Linked DNA regions of Homo sapiens: all the other regions are linked to region 1. The links are contacts of gene promoters, found by promoter capture Hi-C in blood cells and fetal thymus (Javierre and others, 2016). All regions are on one chromosome and are shown on one strand. Each heading gives the region's core, a stretch centred on a gene start or on the middle of the fragment in contact. The rest is flanking DNA. Distances are from core to core; before and after follow the strand shown.

The links. The method cuts DNA at HindIII sites, captures the fragments that hold promoters and counts their contacts. A CHiCAGO score of 5 or more calls a contact.
Region 2: a fragment that was not itself captured here is called in contact with the fragment with the promoter of TUBE1 in region 1 in 1 of 17 cell types (fetal thymus); the score reaches 5.2 in fetal thymus.
Region 3: a contact is called between a fragment that was not itself captured here and the fragment with the promoter of TUBE1 in region 1, in 1 of 17 cell types (total CD8 T cells). The highest score is 5.6, in total CD8 T cells.
Region 4: a contact is called between a fragment that was not itself captured here and the fragment with the promoter of TUBE1 in region 1, in 2 of 17 cell types (non-activated CD4 T cells and total CD8 T cells). The highest score is 5.5, in non-activated CD4 T cells.
Region 5: a fragment that was not itself captured here is called in contact with the fragment with the promoter of TUBE1 in region 1 in 1 of 17 cell types (total CD8 T cells); the score reaches 5.6 in total CD8 T cells.

What each region holds. Positions count from the first base shown.
Region 1 is chr6:112,086,071-112,088,838 of GRCh38, forward strand. TUBE1 (tubulin epsilon 1) reads right to left here and starts at 1,412. Exons shown (of 12, transcript NM_016262.5): 1 at 1,340-1,412; 2 at 1,163-1,236; 3 at 486-538. The coding sequence starts at 1,364. FAM229B (family with sequence similarity 229 member B) reads left to right here and starts at 1,521. Exons shown (of 4, transcript NM_001033564.3): 1 at 1,521-1,650. RefSeq lists enhancers at 942-991, 1,126-1,657, 1,392-1,581. The HindIII fragment of the contact is 2,028 bases long and covers 14-2,041 here.
Region 2 is chr6:111,215,625-111,218,392 of GRCh38, forward strand. The region is part of intron 4 of SLC16A10 (solute carrier family 16 member 10); the gene reads left to right. Among named protein-coding and RNA genes, the nearest start is that of SLC60A2-DT, 42 kb to the right of the region's middle. The HindIII fragment of the contact is 7,253 bases long and covers 1-2,768 here.
Region 3 is chr6:111,360,770-111,363,537 of GRCh38, forward strand. All of the region lies in intron 16 of REV3L (REV3 like, DNA directed polymerase zeta catalytic subunit), which reads right to left. Among named protein-coding and RNA genes, the nearest start is that of SLC60A2, 100 kb to the left of the region's middle. The HindIII fragment of the contact is 3,484 bases long and covers 1-2,768 here.
Region 4 is chr6:111,460,984-111,463,751 of GRCh38, forward strand. All of the region lies in intron 1 of REV3L (REV3 like, DNA directed polymerase zeta catalytic subunit), which reads right to left. Among named protein-coding and RNA genes, the nearest start is that of REV3L, 21 kb to the right of the region's middle. The HindIII fragment of the contact is 1,940 bases long and covers 366-2,305 here.
Region 5 is chr6:111,559,629-111,562,396 of GRCh38, forward strand. The region is part of intron 8 of TRAF3IP2 (TRAF3 interacting protein 2); the gene reads right to left. It also overlaps TRAF3IP2-AS1. Among named protein-coding and RNA genes, the nearest start is that of TRAF3IP2, 45 kb to the right of the region's middle. RefSeq lists an enhancer at 1-235 and a silencer at 2,705-2,768. The HindIII fragment of the contact is 4,561 bases long and covers 1-2,768 here.

The sequences.
Region 1 (2,768 bases), core at 162-2,661:
ATTTAATATTAAAAGCTTATGGAGATATCCTAAACGGCAACTTAAATTACTCTTCCAGATAAAACATATATGGTACTTACATATACTCTTTATTAAATAAACAAAAACAATCCAACAACTGCTTGTCACCTTTTTAAGTATATTTTTATACTTACAGCATATATGTAAACAATATATTTTTCTTTCAAAAGTTAGTTATTACAGGATGCATTAACAAGATGCCCTCTGGGAAAATTTCAGCTTTCTTTTAATGAAACTTATTTCAAGGTTAAGTTAAAAGAAGTCACACTAAAGGGAAATCTGTTGTCTTCTTCGGGAAAATGATATAAGAATATTAATAATCTAATAGAATAAATATGCTTTCAATAATGAAACAAAAAAACACAACTTCGCAGCTGGCTATTTTTATTGTCCTTTGAAGAATTCTCTCCCAAGCTACTGAAACTTAAAGTATCACACTGTGACAGACTTTAATCCCATCTTACCTGGTGTCCACATTTCTAAAGAAGCTGCTTATTGCCTCATCATAAATTCCTTTCTAAAAAGAAAAACATATGTTAATAGCATTTAGGTTTTGCTTCTCGCCCAAATCAAGTTCTTTCAATTTTAATTACATAATACTGTAATGGCTAGGATGAGACTCTGATAAGAAAAACCAAGTATCACAAAATGCGGAGCCTGACTCTTCCCAATCTCCTTAGAAGAGTAAATGCCAGATCTACAGATAAAAAGTTCAGCAGGGGGTGCTAAAGAAAGGATTTCACCCATAGGACTGTAGGACAGGTCCATCAAATGAGCGTTCTCTGGATTCTTCGTAATCTTTTTAAAAGCTGACTGGTTAAATTAAGGAATACAATAACCACACGTGTTATCTATTTTACAAAGTACTTTCCCATATACAAATCTCACTGTTCTGCACACGAACACCAATAAAGAGGAGACCCTGAGAATCAGGAAAAACGTTAAGACTAAGGTCGCTGGCCAGTGTTCTTTTAGTTTAGTGTGTGTCTGACGCAACATGTTTAAAAACCAGTACGTTCTTTACTGGGAAGATCCCATGCATCTTAAACGGGTCAGATGAAAGCTCAAGTCGATTATTTCCTGCGTATGGGCTGGAAGACCTAGCTGACAGGCGAGGGGGCTCGCGGCGGCGGGCGGGTACCTGGTTGACCGCGGCGTGCTCCCTTAGTGCCAGGTCCCAGAAGCAGCAGCCGATCTGGTTTCCGCACTGGCCGACTGCGACCGGAGGAGAGGAAGGAAAGAGAATAGGACATTAAGCAGGAAACATGGCCGCTGGATTCCGCGGCGACCAGGTCTCTACCCGCCCGGCGTAGCTTACCCTGTACGACCACCGACTGGGTCATGGTGGTGCGCCGCCGGCTCCGGGAGCTTGCTAGCCCGCGGCCGCTTCTGCATTCCCCCAGCAACGGCGCTCTGCTAGAGAGCTGCCGTAAGTCACGCTACTGCCGCAAGCCTCTGCCGTCGCTAAGCACGTCTGTAGGTTCAGGCTAAGGTTTTCCGTCAGAAGGCCGCGCAAGTGCACTTGCGTGTCACCGTTACCGTAGCGACTGGGCTTCTGGACTGTATATCCTAGCTGCCTTGTCAACATCTTCGAGCATCGGCAGCTCCGGAGGCCGGGGTAACTGGCAGGTAACTAGGCTTTGGAGTGGTATTTTAAAATATGTGTCGTTAAGCTGTTCGTGGGCTATCAGAGGTTTAATTTTTGTTCACAGCCTCAACACCCGGGGCGGTGGATCAGTCCGTTTATTCAGATTCCACGGGACGCTGCGTTGGCATCTCTGTTCAACAAGCCCTTTATTCTAATAGAAAATGAACAATGGCGTTGAGCAAAGAGAAACCCCAGAGAAATAGTCATGTCAGGGCACAATTGAAACTAGATGGTTATACGCTTTGACAAAAATGGCAAAGCTAAGGTCACAGACCCAACCAGTATTTGTTGAACGCTGTATACTCCCCAAATTAACTTGTAGGCTCGCTGGGAAGATTAGAAAGAAATTAAGGCATAGATCCAGTTCCAAGAAGCTTACAATCTAATTGAAGACATACACGCGAAATACTTAAAGAATTGTGTGGCGTTGACTATAAGTGCAATAGGATTCAGTGGTTGAGGATGTAGATGAGTATGTAGAAGTCTGATAGAAGACACGAGATTAACACTAGGCATTTAGATGGGTATTTAGATGGGATAGGCAGGAGAAGATTAAAAAGTTAGGCATTATGACAATTACCAACTACTTAAAATTGTCAAACATTAAAATATGTAAACTTCTATTGATCAAATTAGACCAGATTTTAATTAAGAACTCAAGTACTTCTTTAATGAAATTAATATTTTCCACAAAAATTCTGAAGAACTACGAAACTCTAAGAAGTCTTCTTTGTTTAATAAAAAGTTATATGGTATGTGCTATGAATATGTGCTAATATGAACTGTAATATTCAATGGATTAGAACACTTTATTGTCCCACCAAGACACGTAGTAGTTACTATTAAATTTCTCTGGTAGCCGGTAGGTTTAAAGTTGCAATGGATTTTATATCTTTTGGTAATAGGCAGCTTTCGGTCAGTAAATTTTTGTAGGCTGGATTTATTCTTAACTTCTTACTGAGTATGGGGTCAGTGGTAGAGGTAAAGTTGGGCATTTTAGGTCTTGATGCTAAAGTCCCAACGTCTGGGGCTTCCAAAATTTGCAAGTCTTGGTCCAGTTTGTAGGCAGTGATGTGAATAGGTCTGTATCAGTGTGTTA
Region 2 (2,768 bases), core at 197-2,696, 870 kb before region 1:
ATTATAGATATGTTTCTAAGATTTAAGTAACTTTCCATGTTTATCTCCTTTTATGTTTGTACATAGAATAAAAATGTTTCTATTGTTAAGAATATTAGAGTTGGACGCAGTGGCTCACGCCTATAATCCCAGCACTTTGGGAGGCCAAAGCAAGTAGTTTGTTTGAGCCCGGGAGTTCAAGAATGGCCTGGGCAACATAGTAAGACCCCATCTCTACAAAAAATAAAAAATTAGCCGGGCATAGTGGCATGTCCCAGCTACTTGGGAGACTAAAGTGGGAGGATCACTTTGAGCCCAGGAGGTTGAGGCTGCAGTGAGCTATGATCGCACCACTGCATTCCAGCCTGGGCAACAAAGTGAGACCTGTTTCAAAAATAAAAAATTGGGGTTTATCTACTTAGATTTTCAATAAAAATTACTACTTAAATCTTTACCTGCTTGTTAATTTCAAACCCTTTTCTACATTTTGATTTATCTTTAAATCTCTTTTTGTCTCAATAAATGGGAAGTATCAGGAAGTCTTTTTACTTGCTCAAGGTCATAGAGAGCTTAGAACCTGGTAGTGTCCCTCTGAGCCCCAGTTCTTTCCAACCTGCCAGGCTGTAGGCCCAACAATTACTCACCACTAAGAAATTATGCTTGTGCTGTCATGGAAGTTGCATTGGAGAAAAGGATATTTAACTGGCAAACAAAAGTCAGGAGAATGGGGAGATTTTGTTCTTTTGAAATGCTAGTGTGAAGTGCTAGGCTTATTTTTCAAATGCCCAACTCGTATTCTTTTCTTTTCTTTTTTTTTTGAGAGGGAGTCTCACACTGTCGCCCAGGCTGGAGTGCAGTGGGGCGATCTCGGCTCACTGCAAGCTCCGCCTGCTGGGTTGACGCCATTCTCCTGCCTCAGCCTCCGAGTAACTGGGACTACAGGCGCCCACCACCACGCCCGGCTAACTTTTTTTTTTTTTTTTTTGTATTTTTAGTAGAGACGGGGTTTCACCGTGTTAGCCAGGATGATCTTGATCTCCTGACCTCGTGATCCGCCCTCCTCAGCCTCCCAAACTGCTGGGATTACAGGCGTGAGCCACCGCGCCCAGCCGGCCAACTCGTATTCCTAAACGAATCATAATTTTACCATAAGACCATAGTTTAGTGATTGAAGAAAAAATGTACCGAACTGTATGATATGATGGTGTCAAAAAGAACTAACCCAATATGAAACAGTTTTCAGGAGCATGTTTCCTATTTTGGTGTCAGTGGACCACTTGTGTTAAAGTTGTGAAAACCAACACTCCTGAATTCCACCCAGAACTCACACTCTGCACCTTCAGAGGCCCTCAGATTGTGAGTGGCTGCCCCGAGGTGTACTACCAACCTCCAGCTTCCGTAGGTCCGTAGGTGTGCTAGTAGGGCCTAGGAAAAACAGAACAGATGAGGACAGTGATGCATACAGCTGCTTTATCTGGTCTCTCCTTCCTCCCTAGCCTGACTGCTATTGGAGGGCACCCTCCAGGCACAGTTCTGTTCACAGCCTGCTGCTGCCCCCGTGGGCCATGGTTCCAGGACGGCTCCATCTTCTGTGCTTTGGGCACATTAACCTCTCCCAGCGTCACTATCTTCATCAGCAAAATGGAGATAACATTAGTACCACCTCATAAAGTTGTTATGAGGATCACCAGTGAGATAATCAATCTAAAGTGCTTACAACAATGCTTGGCACTTGGTAAACACTAAATAAATGATAGTTGCTATTATATGCATACTTTTAAAAAACTTGATGCTTTTAAAAATTTTTTCTGCTGACTAGTGAATTGTTCAGTTTTTGTTGTTGTTGTTGTTGTTGTTGTTGTTTGAGACGGAGTCTCGCTCTGTCGCCCAGGCTGGAGTGCAGTGGCATGATCTCGGCTCACTGCAAGCTCCACCCCCCGGATTCACGCCATTCTCCTGCCTTAGCCTCCCGAGTAGCTGGGATTACAGGCGCCGGCCACCACGCCCGGCTAATTTTTTTGTATTTTTAGTAAAGACGGGGTTTCACCTTGTTAGCCAGGATGGTCTCGATCTCCCGACCTCATGATCTGCCCACCTCGGCCTCCCAAAGTGCTGGGGTTACAGGCATGAGCCACCGTGCCCGGCCATGAATGGTTCAGTTTTAACAGGTTCTGTGCCTTAAAAAAGTTATTAAATTGACTGTTTCCTCCTTTTTTGTACCCATCATACTTTGAATATATAACTACGGCAGCATATAAACACTTCACTTGCACTTATTTATTTAAATGTCCATCTTTCCATAACCCAAGGGTAGGAACGAAATCTTATTCATTGTTGAAACCTCTAGCACATAGCACAGTGCCTACCAAATAGTAGGCAAAATCAGGTGTTCAATTCTATTAACTACTCTAACACTGAACTGAAAGTGTTCAATGGCTCAAAATAATATAATAAGCCTTAACTCTGGGGTGCTTAAATTTATCTATAATCTCTGCCAGTGAAGTATACATAGTTTTAAAGGTTAAAAAAAAATCAAGTGTTTAATGAATTTGAGCTGATTGAGCACTGACCAGATACAGGATCCTTAAACTTCATAATATCTAGTCCAAAGATGAATTTTTTTTTTGGTACAGATTCTGACTTCAAGGGATTTGCAGGCTGGGAGGGAAATTAAATATATAAAAAGTCATTTTCGGCCAGGCGCTGTGGCTCATGCCTGTAATCCCAGCACTTTGGGAGGCCGGGCAGGTGGATCACTTGAGGTCAGGAGTTCAAGACCAGCCTGCCCA
Region 3 (2,768 bases), core at 101-2,600, 730 kb before region 1:
CCTGGCCACTAAGTACTTTTTAAAATATAAAGAACATCAATTATGCATGTATAAGGCATAATAATAAAACAAATACAAATCTACCACTTTCCTCAGAAACATATACTGCTGTTTCTACTTTAAAATATTAGTATTAAAAAAAAAATCAAACCACATGAAATGGAGAGCTAAGGGAAAAAACTTTTACTTTTAAATGCATACTCTTCAGAACTTAATTTTAACAATAAGCATGCATTAATTTAGTAAATAAAAAATTTTTAAATGGAAAACTCCTCCCACAAACCCAAATAAAACAAAACAACCAGTTTCATTAGAAAGGGATGAACATATGAGGCCGGGCACGGTGGCTTATGCCTGTAATCCCAGCACTTTGGGAGGCTGAGGCAGGTGGATCACCTGAGGTCAGGAGTTTGAGACCAGTCTGGCAAATGTAGCGAAACCCCGTCTCTACTAAAAATACAAAAATTAGCCGGGTGTGGTGACGCATGCCTGTAATCCCAGCTACTAGGGAGGCTGAGGCAGGAGAACTGCTTGAACCTGGGAGGTGGAGGTTGCAGTGAGCTGAGATTGTGCCATTGCATTCCAGCCTGGGTGACAGAGTGAGACTATGTCTCAAACAAAACAAAAAAAAACAAAAAACACACACACACAAAAAAAAAAACAAAAAAAAAAAAGAAAGGGATGAACATATGAAAAGACATGAAGACTCTGAAAACAATTTTAGGTTAAAAGGGTCTTAGAGGTTGATTTTTGTTTACTAGATCAAATTTTCACACTCAAAATTTGCATTTCTATTCCTTAATAACAAAATGCATTACTGTGCTTAGGGGGTATTTTTTTAAAGCAAACTATATAAAGACATGGCTTGAGAGATTTAGTGAGTGTGACTAGGCAAGAGGCAGGTGAGAAGGGGGACAAAGATTACAACCCTTGTCTTCTGCACTGAGTACTGATGTGCAGAAGAAAGAGAGATTATCCTAGGGTAATGGAAACAGAGGGAGAAAATGCCACAAGCATAATTTCCTAGAGAAAGGAAGAGAACAGTATTTTTTCTTTGGTTTATTCCCTGTTTCAACCACCGGGCGGCAGTTTGGAATGTGCCTTGAGATGAGGAAAGCCGGTTATCGGGAGGAAGAAGCTGTCAGAGCAACCAGTGAGACCTCCAGAGTGATTTTAACTTCCAGAGGGCCCATGGTTCTGAAACAGGGTTACCTAGGAAAATGTAGAAAAGCGTACTTTTCAAATAAGAGAATAATCAAATGTAACATGTCTTTTTGCTATGGTCTATCAAATTTGCTTTAATACATATTTTTAAAAAAGTTTTTAAAAATTTGCTAATTTCAAGTTTGCATTTGATGGTATGTATTACTGAATTTATCACTTAATTTATCTAGGCTTCAGGGGCTAGTATAGACCTAGGTATAAAACAGAAACTGAATGAATGCTGCTGAATGAGAAAAATGTGCAAATGAATAAATGAGGGAGAGACTATGTTCCAATCTAATTCTAAAAAAACATAATTCTCAGTTCAAATGTGAAGAACAAAGGAGGACAATATTAAAATTTTTCCCTCAGTTTATGTTAATCTAATCTCTAGAACAGTTTACAACAGAATTGACTTGAGAAAAAAAACCACACTTAAAAATTGAATTATAACTTAAAGGTGGTTACTAATCCTCTGCTTTAAAAGCAAAGACATAAAGTGACTGTATAAAACTAGCATTGTCCAATAGAAATATAATGAAAGTCACATGTAACTTAAAGTTTTCTAGTAGTCACATTTAAAAAAATAAAAATAGGTTAATTTAAAAACACTTTGATCTGATCCAATATATTTAAAATATTATCCTTTCAACATGTAATCAATATTAAAATTACTAACAAAATATTTTAAATTATTCTTTCCATGAAGTCTTTGAAATGAGTATGTACTTTATCCTTCTAGTATATCTCACTGTGCACGCTAAATTTTCTACAGAAATACTTGATCTGTAATTTCATACAACTTAAGAGTAAAAAATAGTATTACATACCTAAGTCGTTCCAAACATACTTTGAGTCAACTATGTTTTAAAATCTAAATTAAAATTAAATAAAGTTTAAAATTCAGTTCTTCAGTTGTATAAGCCAAATTTTAAGTTCTCAATATCCATGCTGCTAGCGGCTACCATACGACAGCACAGGTGTAAACAATGAAAACATACTCCAATTTCTATCTTACTGCCAGTCAGATATGTGCTTTGAGTTTGTTTTCTGCATACAAATAAATTTACAGTGACCCATTCACATATTCTTTCCAATGCATACTGTAGCTGATGTATATTTTTGCAAAGTCCTAGTCTTTGGCAGGCAGCCTGTGCTGTGAAGATAGCTGGATTAAGTAGAGAGTATATGAGTGAATGAATTTATCCTCTTTTGTAGCAAGCTCTAATCCACTCAGCCAATCAAACAGAAAATACAAGTAAATATCACATTTCAGATGTGACATAACATCTTAATATAATAATCCCCAAAATACAGACTTACTTCTTTTTTTTGTTTTTCCCCAAAGAGACAGAGTCTTGCTCTGTCTGTAGCCCAGGCTGGAGTGTAGTGGCGCAATCACAGCTCACTGCACCCTCGAACTCCCAGGATCAAGTGATCCTCCCACCTCAGCCTCCCAAGTAGCTGAGACTATAGGTGCGCGCCACCATGCTCATCTAATTTTATTTTTATTTTTTGGTAGAGACAGGGTCTTCCTATGTAGCCCAGGATAGTCTTAAACTCCT
Region 4 (2,768 bases), core at 86-2,585, 630 kb before region 1:
TATAGCATATACAATTATGTTAAGTACATAATACTTGATCATGGTAACAGTTACTAGCTTATGTATTTATTATATACTTTATCATTATTTTAGAATGTACTCCTACTTACATAAAAAGGAAAGTTAACTGTAAAACAGCCTCAGGTAAGTCCTTCAGGAGATATTACAGAAGAAGGAACTGTTATCATAGGAGATGGCAGTTCCATGTGTGTAATTGTCCCTGAAGACCTTCCAGACAAGATGTGGAAGTGGAAGACAGTGATATTTATAGCTTGACTCTCTGTGGGCCTAGGGCTAATGTATTTGCGTCTTAGTTTTTAACAAAAGTTTTAAAAGTAAAAATTAAAAATTTTTAAATAGAAAAAAGCTTACAGAATGAGGACATACTTTTGTACAGCTGTACAATGTATTTGTTTTAAGCTAAGTTATTGTAAGAGAGTAAAAAAGTTTAAAAAACTAAGAAGTTAATAAAGTAAAAGTTACAGTAAGGTAAGGCTAATTATTGAAGACTTTTTAAAAATAAATTTATTATAACCTACATGAACAGTTCTATAAAATCTATAGCAATATACTGTAAAGTCTTAGAGTAGTAATATATTGCATGTTGATTGCATATATATAAAAGTAAAGTGTATGACAACAAAAACATAAAAGATGAAGAGGAGAAATGGGAGTATAGAACTATAAGGTCCTAATACTACATATAAAGCTATGTATTATTATATCAAGAAAACTGTGATTAATTACAAATATACGGCAAACCCTAGGGCAACCACTAAACAAATTTCAGAAAGAGGTATAAATAAATAAGCAAACCGCGGAGAGAAATGGAATTTTTAAAAAGTCCAAGTAATCCAAAAGAAAAAAAGAACAGATAGACTAACATAAACCAGATACCATAGTGGTAGATTTTAATCCAACCATATTACCAATGTTGATAAATATAAACAATCTAAACACACTAAATAAAAGAGACATGTCAAAATGAAAGACAGAGATTATCAGACTGGATAAACAAGTAAGCCCATCTATATGCTGACTATAAGAAACCCATATTAAGTGTAAAGATACAGATAGGTTGAAAGTGAAAGTAAAACAAAAAACAAAAACAGAAAAAATATGTTGGGAGACAATTCTCCATGGGTCTCTGTTGAGGTAGCTGCCTTTGAACCTACTTCTCAGTATCTGGTCTGCAACCATCTCCCCAGTTACTCTTTATTAATAAGTGATACAATGGAGAGATGGAAATCTCATGTCTATTGCTAATATGTATGAAATTCATGGCAAACTTCAGTTTTTGACATGATATACCATGTAAATACTAATCAAAAGGAAGCTGAAGTGGTTATATTAATACAAGGCAAAGAAGATTTCAGAACAAGGAATATTACCAGAGATAAAGAGGCTGTCCGCCAGAAAGGCACACCGATCTTAAATATGTATGGATCTAACAAACTTTCAAAATACATGAAAAAAAAACTGATAGAACTGGAAAGAGAAATAGACAAATCTATTAAGTTGGAGACTTCAACACATCTCTCAGTATTTTATAGAACGAGTAGGCTATAAACATATGGAAAAACTCAATCTCTCACTAGTGATGAAAAATGTACAAACCCACAATGAGATGTTTTAAATTAATTCCTAATTTAAAACTTAAGTCTGACAATCCTAAATATTGGTGAAGATGTGGAACATCAGAAACTCACACTTCTGGTGGGAGTATAGATTGGTATGATCACTTTGGAAAACAATTTGGCATTACTTAGTAGAGATGTGCTCATATTTATAATTTAAAATTCTTATGACGAATAAATAGTAAATATAGATTCACTCAGCAAATATTAAAAACAAAATAAAGCCACAGAATGTAAGTACAACACCCCGTTAGGCCTAACTAGACACCGAGACTCACATAACCCAAACAGGCTGGTTATACTTAACATGTCAGGCAGGAGTCCTCATTGCAATTCGGGGGCTAGTATCTTTGGCCCTCTCAGGTGGCAGATCAAGTGTAAGAGAATGAGAGCATAAGGTCCTTGCAGTAGCTACTCTAGCTTACAGGTACCAAATAGCAACCAATATCTCCAGTCTCATAGGCATAGCTTCCTGAGCTTCAGCAACAGATTTGCTTAGTTGCAAGAGTTATCACACTCAGGGAAGTCCAAAGCTGTTAACGGTATAAGTACCAGTATTTACAATTCATTCACAGTCCTCCTCTGGTCCTTATGCAATTCAGTAATCATGAGTCATTATTACCATAAGCAATGGTGCTCGGTTATACAACTGATATTCTACCTTATCAAGCTTCCAAGTGAACAAAGCTAGGAAGTTAAGCCAAGGCCAAAACTGTCCGAAGAGAAGAAAGGTTAATGTTACAACAAATAAAGAGATTCAATTTAGAATGGCACTAAGCTAAACAACTATTAATATATTTCACTGAATCCAAGATGCTAGTGATTATGACATAATTAATTTTTGTACTAAGAAAAGTGCTGTTAAGTAAATATGGTGCACTACTGATTGTAAGACATATCCTAATTACTGAGATGCACAAGGAGGGAAAATATACTTCTTAGAATTGATGAAATACAGAATAATCCTTCTCTAAATTTTTCACTAAAATATTTAAGACATACAGTAAATTTTCACTTAACTTTGTTGATAGGTTCTTGGAAACCTAAACTTTAAGAAAAACTTTGTAGCAGATCTCCAAATGACATTTTGTTCAACTTCATTTTATTATAACAATGAGAAAAAAACGGTTT
Region 5 (2,768 bases), core at 161-2,660, 530 kb before region 1:
CATTTCTGGCTTTCCCTACATGGGCGTTTCCTACCAAACTATCCTGGGAGTTGTGCTGTTTTGCTTTTGGAAAGGTTTAGCATGTGAAATGTTCTTGGCTTCGGGTACAAGCTGTATATCTCATTATAAAAACCACATGTGCACAGCATTTTCTGTCAGTCTCCCAGACTACCTACCCTTTGCATTTCAACTTGCTTTTCACCACCCTCACATAAAAGGGGTAGGACAGAGGTCACACAGAGTGATGTGAATTCCCCTGTGACTTCAGAAGAAGTATGCCAGGGCCGTAGGCTTAAATCAATTCATTACTCTTTCACTCCAGCCCCAGGTCTGGCCTGCAGTAGAAGGAGCCCATCAGACCTCAGTGATCAGGCAGAGGCAGAAACTGTTAGCCAGGGATCCTGGGGGTGCAGTGTCAGACTGCCCTCATGGAGTGGATGTTCTGGTGGGGAGAGGCAGATAATAAGTAAATGGATAGTGTGTTCAACAGTGATGTATGCTGTGGAGAAGAATTAAACAAGAAAGGGGACAGGGAGTGCTGGGGCAAGGGTGAAAGATTTGCAGTTTTAAACGGGGTGCTTAGGAGAGGTCTCACTGAGAAAATGAGCAAAGACCTAAAAGAGTGGAAGAAGCAAGCTCTGTGGTTGTCTGGGTCCAGGCAGATAGGAGAGTCAGTGCGAAGGCCCTGTGGAGGGAGTGTGTTGGGTCTGTTCACAAGCAACAAGGCCACTGTGAGTAGAGCAGAGTGAGTAGGTGCAGAGGTCTGGAAGTAGAAGGGGCTGTATCGGATAGTGCCCTGTAGGCCACCATAAGGCCTTTGCTTTTGAGTCTAACTCCTAGGGACTATAGGACGGGACTTCTCTAGGTATTGTGCTTAGAAGCAGCACCTGCTGCATGGCAGGCATCATACTGAGTACTGAGGATGCCCAAATGAAAAGGACGCAGGGACTGCCTTGAGGACTTCAAATCTTAGGATGAAAGCAAAATGTCAACAAATGATTTTCTAGTCAATGGTGTACCAAGGGGACAGGTGGTGAGAGCGGCCTGTGCTGGGCTCAGGTAATACGGGCATTGTCTGAAGGAGATTTAAAAATAATAACAAAACCAATGAAAATTTGGTCTATTTTGTATATCGCCATGCTCCAATAATTCTCAACAATTATTCCCAGTACCCTCAACCCAAACACATACCATTGACCCAAGGTGCTAGAATTAAGCACCCTTAAGAAAGGGACAATGAAATATATCAGCATGAAGGTAAAGAGGTGTCAGGGCAGGGCGCAGTGGCTCACGCCTGTAATCCCAGCACTGGGGAGGCTGAGGAGAGTGGATTACCTGAGGTCAGGAGTTCAAGACCAGCCTGGCCAACATGGTGAAACCCTGTCTCTACTAAACATACAAAAATTAGCTGGGCGTGGTGGCGAGCACCTATAACCCCAGCTACTTGGGAGGCTGAGGCAGGAGAATTGCTTGAACCTGGGAGGTGGAGGTTGCAGTGAGCTGAGATTGCACCACTGCACTCCAGCCTGGGCAACAGAGCAAGACCCTGTCTCAAAAAAAAAAAACACTTTGGGAGGCCCAGGCAGGTGGATCACGAGGTCAAGAGAACAAGACCATCCTGGCCAACATGGTGAAACCCCATCTCCACTAAAAATACAAAAATTAGCTGGGCATAGTAGCACATGCCTGTAGTCCCAGATAGTCGGGAGGCTGAGGCAGGAGAATCGCTTGAACCCTGGAGGCAGAGGTTGCAGTGAGCCGAGATCACACCACTACACTCCAGCCTGATGACAGAGCAAGACTCCGTCTCAAAACAAACAACCAAAAGAGGTGTCGGGGAGGCTAGAGAGATTGGGTGATATAAGGGTAAGTAAGAGTTCACTAGGCAGGCAAGTTAGGGAAGGGCATTGCAAGCAGACGGAACAGAAAAGGCAAAGGCACAGAGACAAAAGAACACAGCATGTGTGAGGGCATGCTGAAATGGTCCAGGGTGACCAGAGCACACAGCATCTACAGAGGGTGATGAGAGAAAACTACGCAAGGGGACACAGTCCTCTTCTGAGAGGCCTCATAGATCGTGCTAAGAAAGGTGGATATGATCTTGTAGTCAATGGGAAAACGGCACAAAATTTGTAAGCTACCAAGAAACAGATCAGACCTACATTTTGGATGTTCCTCTTTGATGGCAGAGGAGAGGATGGCTAGCACAAGGTCAAAGTGGAGATGAGACCAGTAAGGAGACTCATCAGTAAGTGACAGCAGTGAGACCCTGGGCAAAGGCAGCGCAGGGAGGATAGAAAGGTGTGCCATCGCACAGGCTGTGCACCATACAGCCTGAGGTGTCCCGTTCCCATAAACTGGAGCCTCCCTCATCCAGGGCAGGGGTCTCAGTGCAGTCTTGACATCTGAGGATCCCTCCAGGGTGAAACAGGGCCTGAGTTTAGGGTGCTGTGGTCTGATTCTCAACATGTTTACTCCACCACTGCCTTCCCTTTGCCAAGCATGGAATGTGGCCTCAGGTGGTTTTGCCCCCATTCTCCAAACTTGCTGGCAGACCCTTCTGGTGTGAAAAGCCTCATATGAATCACGGCAAAGTTCACTCAGGTAACTATAGATTTAATTCCTGTAATCATTAGCTTTGAGAGCTGAACTATGTGCAATGAAATGCCTCCCTGGAACAGCCAGCAAAAACCATACACATCTTGACTTTTATGTACAAGAGATAAGAAGTATGACATGAACCTTCTCTTTTTCTTTCTTGAGTTAAA